2 separate regions of the Homo sapiens genome follow, and region 2 is linked to region 1. Evidence: promoter capture Hi-C in 16 types of primary human blood cells and fetal thymus (Javierre and others, 2016). All regions are on one chromosome and are shown on one strand. Each heading gives the region's core, a stretch centred on a gene start or on the middle of the fragment in contact. The rest is flanking DNA. Distances are from core to core; before and after follow the strand shown. Region 1 holds the start of GSPT2 (G1 to S phase transition 2). Region 2 has its middle 34 kb from the start of GSPT2.

The links. Contacts are between HindIII fragments. The CHiCAGO score rates a contact against its expected background, and 5 or more counts as called.
Region 2: a fragment that was not itself captured here is called in contact with the fragment with the promoter of GSPT2 in region 1 in 1 of 17 cell types (fetal thymus); the score reaches 5.2 in fetal thymus.

What each region holds. Positions count from the first base shown.
Region 1 is chrX:51,740,328-51,747,508 of GRCh38, forward strand. It overlaps GSPT2 (G1 to S phase transition 2), which reads left to right and starts at 3,115. Exons shown (of 1, transcript NM_018094.5): 1 at 3,115-5,905. The coding sequence starts at 3,300. The coding sequence ends at 5,186. The HindIII fragment of the contact is 6,668 bases long and covers 2,474-7,181 here.
Region 2 is chrX:51,773,684-51,780,566 of GRCh38, forward strand. No RefSeq gene overlaps it. Among named protein-coding and RNA genes, the nearest start is that of GSPT2, 34 kb to the left of the region's middle. The HindIII fragment of the contact is 2,716 bases long and covers 3,647-6,362 here.

The DNA.
Region 1 (7,181 bases), core at 1,865-4,364:
TGTTGAAGGTAAATTTTTTGGAACAGCACTCCAGTTAATAAAAACAGAAAGAATGACAGAAGTGCAATATCACAATTTTGCAACCTCTAATGATATGTCTCTAAACAAGTATCAATAATTGTGGCTAACTGTAAAAAGAGTCACAACCCGACCTCATGTGCCTCTTGATGGAAATAATCAAAATTCCCTTGAAGTATTCTTGTTAAAAAATTGCACCTGAATCTGATCAAGCTCATAGATTTAATTATTGATAAACAGGAAATACAGAGAACAAAGGAATATTCTAAACTCTACCATAGACATACAGTCAGCAAAGCTGAGAATGTAAAAAAACAAAAAAACAAACAAAAAAACCTCTCTACCAGTCACATCATCCACTTTCCTCAATAAATAAATGACATGAAAAAGGGGAAGATAGGTTGGGTATCCAGAGATAAAAAAGACTTAAAAGAAATATCAAAAAAGCAGGCCAAATTGAACTGTAGTGTCTGAGTGTACACATTTGTGTAATAAAACTATACGGAAAATCGTATAGGTTATTACCATAAATGTCACAATAGCAGTTACATTGAGAGGTGGAGGAAGTCATTTGTGATTGAACAGGGCACAAGGAAGCCTTCTGGGCTGGCTGGCAAATTTCTCTTGACTTGGATGGTTGTTACAAGTGTGTTTCCTTTCTCATAAGTCAATAACCTATAATTTTTAATGTGACTTTCTGTGTTTGTGCTATATTTTACAATAAAAAAGATTTTTAAAGGAGGAAAAAGATTGAATTAAGCAATGGTTGGATATCACCTACACTCTTTTTTAAATTTTCCTCTTTGGTGAGGAAAATTCTCTCATTTACTGATGAACTCTTAGGCAGAAAGACTGGAGACAAGCATCCCATCACACAAACCAAAAGATTTTTGTCCAAGGCCAATCTCTCTGGACACAATCTGGTCAGTGCTTCTCTCTCTTGCGTTGAACTGCCTCCCCTGGAACCTCATGAATGATGGATTATGAGGACATTCACAGACTATTTCTGACTTCTCCTTTATCGTTCTAACAGTGAAGTATCCTCTGTTCTCTGAGATATCACTAAGTAGCAGTCATACCAATATGTTCATGACCAATGCATTCGACCCAGGTGAAGGAAAAATCCCAGATGTCTCCTGCTTCCTTGCATGAATTACCTTATGTGAACACGGCTGCCAAAACCTTGACAGGTTCTCCCAGAAATGTCCATTCTAGGTTCACACAATGTCCAAGAAGGCTCCAGCACTTGTGTGGAGGGTCTCTCTGCACATTCTACCTCTCAGTTCTTCCTGTTTATTGTGAATAGGTGTGCACATTCTCTTTATGTCACTGTAAATAATTAATCCATAACCGGAGGCAAAAAGAATGAAGGTGTGGAAACAGTACAGAGCTAGTATAATAGTGGCAGCCCCAGAGTGAAAACATCAAGGGTCCAAGTCTGTCTTTTTTCCTACCCCTAAAGTCTGGAGAACACAATTCTCAAGTTATAATCAGGTACTTGGTTTTATAATATTTTGCTTTGTTGTTGGATTTAAATATCCAACTATGAGGCCAGGCGTGGTGGCTCATGCCTGTAATCCCAGCACTTTGGGAGGCCGAGGCAGGTGGATCACCTGAGGTCAGGAGTTCAAGACCAGTCTGGCCAACATGGTGAAACCCTGTCTCTACTAAAAATATATATTAAGAAAAATTAGCTGAGCTTGGTGGCGGACGCCTGTAATCCCAGCTACTCAGGAAGCTGAGGCAGGAGAATTGCTTGAACCCAGGAGGCAGAAGTTGCAGTGAGCTGAGATCATGCCACTGCACTCCAGCCTGGGCAACAAAAGTGAAACTTTGTCTCAAAATAAAAAAATAAATCCATCTATGTGACACCATCTTGTACTAAGCAGATTGTTTGGACTGAATAGTCTTTCTAGGTATGTCACAAAACCTGAATTCATAAAAGCAAAAGGTGACAGATTTGAGTACATGAAGACTAAAAACAGATTCAGAGAATAAGTTTGTATTTTCTATGTCAGTTTGCACTAAATTAATTTACAAACAAGGTCGCTGAGGCTTTGACTCAACTGTTAACACTTTCTGAGAGTGAGATTCTTTTGATTAGGGTCTTAAGGTCTTTGTTCATCTCAGAAGTCTTAATTGGTTTAATTAGGCTGACACCTACAGCCCTGTCTCATTACCATAAACTGTAGAGGGGTTCAACATGACACTGATTGTTTCTTAGAGCAAAGCCAGTGCAGTGAGTAGGATTCCAGGCCCCCCGGAATGAAGCAGGAAAACCCGAGGCCTGTGGATGCAGGATGTACTAGGGAGGTGCTGGGGAGTAGTGCAGATAAACCCAGAATTCAGTTGGTTGGTAAAACAAGAGTGATCTGAGTCCTGTGCTTGTCTACGTGATCCACCATTGAATGGCAGGCCAGCCATTGTGCAGGCATCTGCATATGAAGTGACTGGAAGCTTCACTGGAACAAGGATCTCCTTGGAAATTCTCTCCCCTCAGACAGCCAGGGTGCTTAACATGAAAAGAAGTTGTAACCCTATCCTTAAACTATAGAAGCCATCAGCAGAAGTTACAGGCTTATGGGGGCCCACTGGAAAGGGAAAATCAAAAGGCCTGTGGATTTCAAATTAATGAGTGATCTTAAGTTGCATTTCCTAAGTTCGGCTACAGACTCATATATTTCATGAGTCCCTCCCTACCCATTCCTTGCCTCTCCCTTCAGTTGCTGGGTTTCTGAATTTCTGTATAGTTAACCCTTATCTTGCCTCCCATTTGTTCAATAGAAATGATCACTTTTACTTGAATCTTTTGGTAGAATTGTATACCATGTGTTCCTGTCTAGGTTTAATCATCAGATTGTGGTCAAATTGCTCTGCCAGACTGTGTGAACAAAAAAGTGAATGGAAATTTTCGTTTTAAAAAATAATACTTTTGGACTTAGCCCGTGGCTAAGAAGAAGTAAGGAAGCCAAGCGTACGGATAGCAGCGAGGGGTCAATCCACGCCCGGCGTTGGGTCGGGGGTGGAGGAGTCGGAAGTGGTTGGGGTTTGGGGGAGGAGATCCGCTCACACACAAGAGGAGAGTGTTGAGCCGCCATATCTGCTGCTGCCGCCGCAGTTGCGAATGCAGCATCGGCGCTTAGCTGCCTCCGCGGTGCAGCTAAGGTTCGTGTCGCTACCCCTTGGCCCTTCGCTCTTGCTGCCTTAACCCCGCCGGCGGAGCCCGCTCTTCTGGCCTGTTGAGCCCGCTCCCTCACTGCCACACAGCAAGTTCCGAGACCATGGATTCGGGCAGCAGCAGCAGCGACTCGGCGCCCGATTGCTGGGACCAGGTGGACATGGAATCCCCGGGGTCGGCCCCGAGCGGGGATGGAGTCTCCTCTGCGGTGGCCGAGGCCCAGCGCGAGCCCCTCAGCTCGGCTTTCAGCCGTAAGCTCAACGTCAACGCCAAGCCCTTCGTGCCTAACGTACACGCCGCGGAGTTCGTGCCGTCCTTCCTGCGGGGCCCGACTCAGCCGCCCACCCTCCCGGCCGGCTCCGGCAGCAACGATGAAACCTGCACCGGCGCGGGATACCCTCAAGGTAAAAGGATGGGACGGGGGGCACCTGTGGAACCTTCCCGAGAGGAACCGTTAGTGTCGCTTGAAGGTTCCAATTCAGCCGTTACCATGGAACTTTCAGAACCTGTTGTAGAAAATGGAGAGGTGGAAATGGCCCTAGAAGAATCATGGGAGCACAGTAAAGAAGTAAGTGAAGCCGAGCCTGGGGGTGGTTCCTCGGGAGATTCAGGGCCCCCAGAAGAAAGTGGCCAGGAAATGATGGAGGAAAAAGAGGAAATAAGAAAATCCAAATCTGTGATCGTACCCTCAGGTGCACCTAAGAAAGAACACGTAAATGTAGTATTCATTGGCCATGTAGACGCTGGCAAGTCAACCATCGGAGGACAGATAATGTTTTTGACTGGAATGGTTGACAAAAGAACACTGGAGAAATATGAAAGAGAAGCTAAGGAAAAAAACAGAGAAACCTGGTATTTGTCCTGGGCCTTAGATACAAATCAGGAGGAACGAGACAAGGGTAAAACAGTCGAAGTGGGTCGTGCCTATTTTGAAACAGAAAGGAAACATTTCACAATTTTAGATGCCCCTGGCCACAAGAGTTTTGTCCCAAATATGATTGGTGGTGCTTCTCAAGCTGATTTGGCTGTGCTGGTCATCTCTGCCAGGAAAGGAGAGTTTGAAACTGGATTTGAAAAAGGTGGACAGACAAGAGAACATGCGATGTTGGCAAAAACGGCAGGGGTAAAACATTTAATAGTGCTTATTAATAAGATGGATGATCCCACAGTAAATTGGAGCATCGAGAGATATGAAGAATGTAAAGAAAAACTGGTGCCCTTTTTGAAAAAAGTAGGCTTCAGTCCAAAAAAGGACATTCACTTTATGCCCTGCTCAGGACTGACCGGAGCAAATATTAAAGAGCAGTCAGATTTCTGCCCTTGGTACACTGGATTACCATTTATTCCGTATTTGGATAACTTGCCAAACTTCAACAGATCAATTGATGGACCAATAAGACTGCCAATTGTGGATAAGTACAAAGATATGGGCACTGTGGTCCTGGGAAAGCTGGAATCCGGGTCCATTTTTAAAGGCCAGCAGCTCGTGATGATGCCAAACAAGCACAATGTAGAAGTTCTTGGAATACTTTCTGATGATACTGAAACTGATTTTGTAGCCCCAGGTGAAAACCTCAAAATCAGACTGAAGGGAATTGAAGAAGAAGAGATTCTTCCAGGATTCATACTTTGTGATCCTAGTAACCTCTGCCATTCTGGACGCACGTTTGATGTTCAGATAGTGATTATTGAGCACAAATCCATCATCTGCCCAGGTTATAATGCGGTGCTGCACATTCATACTTGTATTGAGGAAGTTGAGATAACAGCGTTAATCTCCTTGGTAGACAAAAAATCAGGAGAAAAAAGTAAGACACGACCCCGCTTCGTGAAACAAGATCAAGTATGCATTGCTCGTTTAAGGACAGCAGGAACCATCTGCCTCGAGACGTTCAAAGATTTTCCTCAGATGGGTCGTTTTACTTTAAGAGATGAGGGTAAGACCATTGCAATTGGAAAAGTTCTGAAATTGGTCCCAGAGAAGGACTAAGCAATTTTCTTGATGCCTCTGCAAGATACTGTGAGGAGAATTGACAGCAAAAGTTCACCACCTACTCTTATTTACTGCCCATTGATTGACTTTTCTTCATATTTTGCAAAGAGAAATTTCACAGCAAAAATTCATGTTTTGTCAGCTTTCTCATGTTGAGATCTGTTATGTCACTGATGAATTTACCCTCAAGTTTCCTTCCTCTGTACCACTCTGCTTCCTTGGACAATATCAGTAATAGCTTTGTAAGTGATGTGGACGTAATTGCCTACAGTAATGAAAAATTAATGTACTTTAATTTTTCATTTTCTTTTAGGATATTTAGACCACCCTTGTTCCACGCAAACCAGAGTGTGTCAGTGTTTGTGTGTGTGTTAAAATGATAACTAACATGTGAATAAAATACTCCATTTGAAACTCTTCGGTTATTTGAAATGCTTTTGAATAATGTTTAAATGTCATTATGTAATGCTATTCAATTAGCTTTATTACTTTCTCAAATAGTTGAATATGTTCTATCACTTAAAAACTTAAAAACTCTTCACCACTTACTGTTTTAAGTGAGGAATTTACAAACAATGCATAAGTGTGTATTAAAGGAATAATTTTAATTTTGAGAAAAAAACGTATGTTAAGGCTCTTCCCAGTGGGCTTTGTTTTCTCTGTCCAAGTCCAGTCAATAAAGGAGCTCTTCTGCTTCCCCACTTGTGATTTGAAAATGAAAGGCTCAGGCCGTCTTTATTTGTATAGCAGTAGTTCATGTAACATTATCCATAGGTTCTTGAAGACTACAACATTAAGCAAAACAATGTACAGCAGGTGTACATCGTACAACAATGCACAATGTATGACATTGTTCAATGTTGTTATGACATTGTTCAATGTTGTTATGACATTGTTCAATGTTGTTATGACCTTGTTCAATGTTGTTTAGTTATGACATTGTTCAATGTTGTTTAGTTATGACATTGTTCAATGTTGTTTAGTTATGACATTGATAAGGGGAAAAATTCATTTTGTTAGATGTTATTTCACTTGAAGTCACAATTTCCAAGAACCAGTGGACTATGTTAAGTGAGGACTTACTGTATTCCATCAGGTCCCATCACGTTAAGCATGGCCAAATTATAGGAGATTTGGACCATAGGTTTACAAGACTCTTTATTTTTTTAAAAGACAGGGTCTCACTCTGTCACCCAGGCTGGAGTGCAGTGGTGCAGTCATGGCTCACTGCAGCCTCAACCTCCCAGGCTCAAGCAATCCTCCCATCTCAGCCCCCCAAAGTGGTGGGATTACAGGCGTGAGCCACTGTGCCCAGCCTTGGCTAGACTCTTAACTGTACTCCATCATCTTAACAAACACAGCTCTTGGTTTTGTTCACCATGAAACTTGTGATATGGGTCACAACCCAATAAGGGGTATGGCTATTGAGAAGATAAATGCTTGCAATGGGGCCTTTGGTCATTGAGTAAAAACTAAGGATTAGTGACTCCTGGGCTGGGAAATGAGATGATGTCACCTTTGTCTCTTTCATGCTTGGGTTGATAGGAAAGGTGGGAAGTCATTTTTAAATTCAGATCATGACCTACACTTGGGGTCAGAGGCACTGGATACTTCTCTGAACAACTTCTTGAGGAAAACACCAATTATGGATTCTGAGGTGGCTACATTTATTGGCAAGAGAGTGGCCTTATAACCTGCAAATAACTGTCAACAACTAAAGAACCTTCTGTCTTATTAAGTGGGTAGTGCCTTAGGCACAGCAGTATACCTGGAGAGAGAGACAGTTTGCTTTGCTGTCAAACCTCATACTCATGAGCTAGTTGAATAGGTGTGGGGACTGCTGGCACAACACCCTGGGCTCATTCATGCTCAGGTAAAGGCAATGTATCCTTCTACATTGTCCCTTTGTGTGTACATGTACCTCCAGGGTGTCTAACCTGTCAGAGATAGCCACACTGGTCTTGTTGGAGCATCAGTATTTTGGCTGTACTG
Region 2 (6,883 bases), core at 3,755-6,254, 35 kb after region 1:
ATGAAGAGGGATATTTAGGACAAAACAAAAAGTTCAAATATGTCTTGAATGATCTAAGTCATAATAAGGTCATTAAAAAAAGAGAATTTATAAAAATGTTATGTGATTAATTGGCTTTAATGAAGGAAAATTGTAATAAAGTTTTTCTAAAATTAAACTTTGATATTAAAAATACACTAATACAAAACTAAATAATTGGTTAAAACAAGATTTTATTTAAAATGTTGACTTATGCTTAAAGCAAAATTTTTAATTTTTGAATTCTATAATCTGTCTGAAATTTTTCAGATTGATATCTAAGAAGGTCACCTCTTTCTTTTAAAAAGGACTTGGATGATAACTTTCACCTTTTATTGGCACCTATAACTTTTAAAATCTAAAGTAAAGGAGAGTTTTTTTTAATAGGTAAATTAAATATATTTTGGATCTGCCTTTTTAAATTCTGTATGCCTGTTATATCTCTATCTTTATATGTGTCATGTGAAAGTGATACTTCACTACCAAACTATATGAAAGAGCTCTAATCAAGTAACTTACAAAAAAAGTGAGTATTCACTAGACTGGTAGAAACTAGCTCAGATGCCTTTTAATTCACATCACTTTGATAATCTTTGGTAAAATTAATTTGGTAAATTTAATCTCAAAACTCTCTCCAGTGATTTAAAATCTTAAAGTTATGTTGTGTTAAATTAAGTAATCTCAGGGTTTTTTTTTTTTTCAACTGAGAGTTTAGGTTACTAAAAGTTAAAATTGTAGGGTCATAAAAATGTTTTTGGTGAAGTTTATAAAACACAAGGATATGGATTTTGCTAAAGAAAGTGTAGGTCGGTGGCTCACACCTGTAATCCCAGCACTTTGGGAGGCCGAGATGGGCAGATCACGAGGTCGAGAGATCGACACCATCCTGGCCAACATGGTGAAACTCTGTCTCTACTAAGAATACAAAAATTAGCTGGGCGTGGTGGCCCACGTCTGTAGTCCCAGCTACTCGGGAGGCTGAGACAGGAGAATCGCTTGAACCCGGGAGGTGGAGGTTGCAGTGAGCCGAGACCACGCCACTGCACTCCAGCCTGGCACAGAGTGAGACTCCCTCTCAAAAAAGTAAAAATAAAAATAAATAAATAAAATGTAGGGTTTTTTTCTAGTTAAGAAACTATTTAAGAGTTGCTTTAAAATAAATGAAAAATTATACAGATAAAAGTAAATGGATAAAAGGAAAAATTAAGCCAGAGCAACAAAAGTTAATTCTGAGACCTTTGATTACCAAAATGATAGTCAATGTAGGGGAAGGGCAAAACCAAGTAACTATACTAAAGGGTATAATGTAAAACCAGAGGGTATAATGTAAAGGAATTGTTCCATTTTGTAGATTGGTATCATCAGCTTCTTGAGAAACCTTTACTATAATAGATGGTAAAAATAACCATCTTAAGGACACAATCCTTAATTTTAAATGCTACAGAAAATAAAAGCTTGTTTGGGCTGACCCAGAACCCACAGCTCACTATTGAACCATCACTAATGAGTATATGTGATTTCAATGCACAGGAGGAGAGAACAACCAGCCTAGTGGACTGGATAAATGACACTGTAAGCTCTGTTTGCCCTGAGAGGGGACTACCCAGCTCTCCCTATAAAATACCAAGTGGAGAACCCCAGATGAAGCAGTTAGTATGCTTCATATGCAAGCCATGTGGGACCAGCTTTATGATAACTGGGATATCCTCCTACCAAATGTGCCTATTACCCTGGTCATGGTAAATTTGGGGGTTAAGTGGGGAGCCCTTTTACATGGGTGCCCCTCCTGCAGAATCATACAACTGTCTGAGAAGCCTTATCAAGTTTACTGTACCTCATGGGTTTTACAGATGCAACTCCCTGCTGGGAACACAAATCCTTTTTCACTAGAAAAAGTAAAATGATCTGGGGATAGTAAAACAAGTTCCTGGGATCAGAACACAAAAACATACAGGTTAATAGAATTATGAAATTTAAGATGTTTACACAGGCTTTATGTAAAGTAGTTGTAACCCCTTTACCTAAATGTCTTACGAAAATAAGTATTGTATCTAACTGGGGGATTTTTCCCCTATCTAGTACTATAAAACTGAAGACATGTACATCTGCTCTTTGAGAACTGTTGCTTGGACTCACTAAATGAAAAGTAGTATGATTCCCTGAGCCCACAAAATATAGCCTAAAGGGTGGAGTGCTAGTTGAGACAAATCCTCCACTTTATAGCCCTTTATGAAGTATTTATTGGGGCTTAATGCAACAAGGCTGTACTTTCCAATGACAAAGACTGAACTAGAGAATTTCCACTTGAGGAACATTTACTGCCTTGCTATGAAATGTTAACTGAAGCTACCCCTATGCTGAATGAAAATAATGGTGCCCCAAAGAGTAAAATAAAAAATGGTTTACATAGAATCTTGCTACCTGGGGATACAAGGAGGAGAAACTTATAAGCAGAGAGCTTCTTTTTTCCCTAGGACTAATTCTCACTATGTGAGGATCTGCTAGATTCTACAGTGCCTGATAGACAGCTCCCATGAGTTATTTGGTTTGCGAATGGCATTTCCAAGGTGAACAAACATCTTGTTTGAAAGCTGCTGCTCTGGTTAAAGAAGGATAAAAAAAAAATCGTTTTCTTTTGAGTTATTTGGGTGAAGTATGTTTTTGTAAGCAAATTTACCTTTCTCTGTACCTGAGTTCTCCAGAATTCGGGTTGTGATTTCATGACAATATAGTTACTTGCATAAATTTAGTAATAGTCTTTTAAAACAAAACAATTGGAGACACTGGTTATTTTACCAAGACTTTAACTAAAATAGCATATTTTAGGTAAAGTTCCAGCAAAGCCAACTTAAAAGGAGCTTATATGGCCAATCAATTCTTGTTACATTTTATGCAAATAATCAGGCCAAGTATAATAAGCCTAAAACCTAGTTCGCACACAAATTGGTCTTACTATAATTTCTCTTTAATAGAAAAGGAGGGCTAGAGTAAAAGAAATTGTTTCCAAGGAAAAGCGTAACACTTGATACTAGATTTCAGCCCTAACTTTTCTTTTTTTAAGTGCAGATTGAATCATGAATTATTTCTTGGCTACAATAATCCTCTACAGAGTACTAGATTATAATTTTTCTTCATATCTTTAGTTGGTGCCCTAATGGAATAGGTTCCTTTTTCTGTTCAAACACACAAAAATTCTTTGATTGTCAAAACATTAATGTTATTATCTCTCCTTGTTTTACTTCCAAGGAAACCCAAATCATGGTTTTCTGAAGACCAGAGATGCAAATCTCCCTCATTTGGCATCCCACTGGGTCTGATCTGTTTTTCACTGCAAATGCCCTACTGCTAAAACGATGCAAGCACCATCCCCCCAGGCCCAGGGATCGTCACAGAAGACGTGGGTGTGAGAGATAGTAAGGGCTGGTTTTGAGGAATAAAATTAGGTCAAGATCAGACCCTCCAAAGCAAGGATAGATACAAAGATGCCTAAAGAGCTGGTAAAACAAGGGACTTTGTCTTCTAAGCTATTATGTGTCACTTTTGCATCCACCCCAACCATAAAGCATTTTTTGCTCCCTGTAGAATTAAAAGAAAATATCTGTGACACAAGAAAGATACCTTGTGATAAAGCTTCCTGGATATAATACTCCCAGTTATGAGTTGAGAAGATAAATATATTAAAACTTTTTTTTTCAGAGCAGTGCTTATGATTTGTATAGCTAATTGCTACAAATCTGTAACTAAATCCAAACTTATAGTAGGTCAACGCATAAAAGTTACAGTCAGTTTTGTAACCTTGCCTTTGGTTTTTGTTTGTTGGCTTTTTACCTAAAATAATAATAATTTTAAGAGATAATAAATACCTGTCCACGTTCATCCTATCTGGCCTATAACAATTAATTGGCTGTAAGTCTTTTTACTCTTAAGGTCCTTGGCCATAGGGACTTCCACCGAGGGACAGGATGGACCCAGGGAGGGCAGCCCTGCCACCCCAGCAACGCTATGAGAGAAAATAAAAATTTACTGGCTAAATAAATAAATAAACAAATAAATTTACTGGCTATTGATGTTGCCTCTGGCAAATCTTGTCAAGAAGGAGGAGAATGTAAACCAAAAATAAAATTCTAAGCACCACCCCCAAAACATCTGAACGGACTTCCTCCTAGGCCAGGGCACACTTAAAATTTAACCTGAGGGACTGGTTCAGGCCATGATGGGAAGTGCGGTTCAGACGTGCCTCATTGTACCTCTCTGGCATTCACATCAACACAGACCTTAAGTCTGATAAACATTTACAATCTTTTCTCTCTGAAGCCTTCCTCTGCACAATAAGAACTTTGGTGTCCACAGTTCTTTATCTTAACCCAGACATTTCCTTTCTATTGATCCCAGGTCTTTAGATTAAACTCAACCAATTGTCAACCAGAAAATTTTTAAATCTACCTGTAACCTGGAAGCCCCCTCCCGCTAGTTCAAATTGTCCCACCTTTCTGGACCGAACCAATGTATTTCTTAAATGTATTTGACTGAAGTGTCATGTCTCCCTAAAATGTATAAAACCAAGCTGCATCCTGACCACCTTGGGCTCATGTTCTTAGGACTTCCTGAGGGCTGTGTCATGGGCCATGGTCACTCATATTTGGCTCAGAATAAATCTCTCCAAATATTTTACAGAGTCTGCCTCTCTTCATTGACACTATTAAATTATTAATGAGACTATGATTGGTATTACTTGATCAGTTAACAACTTGTGAATGCTACATATGAAATATAAACTATGAAATACCTTATGAAATAGTGTAAAGTTGATATCATCAACACATGGCAACATCACAAGAGACAGAATCATGGAACACCAGATTAAACAGGGCTATTCTTTCTTTAGTAGGAGAGGAATTGTCTCATCCATCCATAAAGTCCAACTAGGCCACCCACCTGCAGATCATCTCAGTCAGTTCACAACAAAGTACCTGACCGTTATGAATCCAACTGGGAAGAAGTTGGTCCCGGTGAGGCACCTGTGGTTCCTAGAAGCAGGGTCATGGCCCTGAGTCCCCAAGGCAACCAATATATCAGGGAGATCTGTCTCCCTTAGGAAATGCAGGGTGAGGTTTTCCCTAAGGGTCAGGCTTGGAAGTTGGTTGGAAGAGTTGGTGCCTATCTTCTGGGTATTGTCCAGTTTGCACCAGAAACACACCCTGTCTTCAAACTAAGAACACCTGTTGGTGTGCCATTTTCATGCTTCCATGGGACAGGAGTGTTCATAGGTTTAGACTTCTTTCCTGTCCTCAGCCCAGGACACCAGCCTCTTTGCCTCTACCTGCTCTGCCTTCCTTATGGGTTTGGGTAGCTCTTCTTTTCATTCACCATAGTGCCATCATCCCTGTCCATGCTCTGCTCATCCGAGATACTCCAGGGTATGTTCCCTTCCTCGCATTCCATTTATAGGGTGGTGGGGTGGGGGGGTGGTAGCCAGAGGGGGTGTGGAGGTTAACAGGGGAGAGATCATAACATGTTTGTGGAGTGATAGGGATGATTCATATATAGTGTAGGCCAGTGATTCAGTGTCAGTTTTCTCCATGGTAATGAGCCAGTTCTCCAAATGTTAATGTTTTAAAGACACAGTGTTGGGAGAGGAAATCTGCTGGGAGCCCTGAGCATTCCTTTATGCTTTTGCGGAGTACACCAATAATTCAAAGTCCCCCACTCTTTACCTGGGAGATTTCTCAGAGTTCTCTTTTAGTGAGCAACAAACAGGGATGCTTGAGGGATGAGGTAACACCCCCCACAGAGAGCATGATTGCTCCCACTCCCAAGAAAGACATAGGATCTCCCAAGCTCAGTGTTCCTCTCTTGTAACACAATTCTCAGCAAGTGTGAGCATCCACGCAAGTCCACCTTCATCACCCCCGTGGGGCTTGGAGGGCATACAGAGCCAGTGCAAACAGGAGGCTCTGGCAACTACTTTTGTTGAAAGGAATAAAGTCCTTTGCCTCTGACCCAGAGGGTTTCTGTCTTCTGCCAGAATGTCAATCTGTGGCAAATGAACTTGTAAACTTGCAAGTAGGTTAAAATCATAGGCCCTCTACCATTCTTGACACATAGATTTAAACTTATCAGTACTAAACCTCATCAGAGTGCGCAAGTTCTCTGCTTCCCTTTGCAATTTGCATCAAAGTCAACTCCACTAATATGGTCTTCATGGTCTTCCAGGCCCTGCATAGCCTGGCCCTGCCTACCTCTCCAGGATCTTGTGCCAGTTGTGTCCAAATCTCTCTGCTTTTGAGTCATATGGGGAAAAATTTGTCCCTGACATCTGGGCACTGGTATGACACTTACAATTAAGCTTCCATGTTGCTAGTAGCATGGCCTCTTGCCGATGGCTAGACCATGTTGTTCTCCAGATAGACATAAATACCAGAATCACCCAATCAAATCCCAAATCCCATAACAGATTCTTTCTATCATGATCTTTCTGAAACACCATTGTTCTTCCTGACATGCATTGTCCTTTATTGCCATGAATAGTAAACCCAACTTATTTAACTACTTGTGCATTCCTGGCACTCTTTGGCTGGAGGACATTGGCATATACACATGCTGATCTTCTTCCAGTTTATCAACATTCCATTTTCTTTCCTGCCACAGGCACTTTGCACATACTATTCCTTCTGCCTAGAACATTGTTCTCTTCACCTCCTTGACCTTGCTAGCCCCTCCCCATCTTGAAGTTCTCAGCATAAATATCACTTTCTTTAGGATGTTTTCCCAACTCCTTCGGCAAAATCTGGGTGTATTCTCTGATAGTGTGTTAGGTTTTTCCCATTATATACACTTTTCTAATTTGTAATATACATTTGTTTGT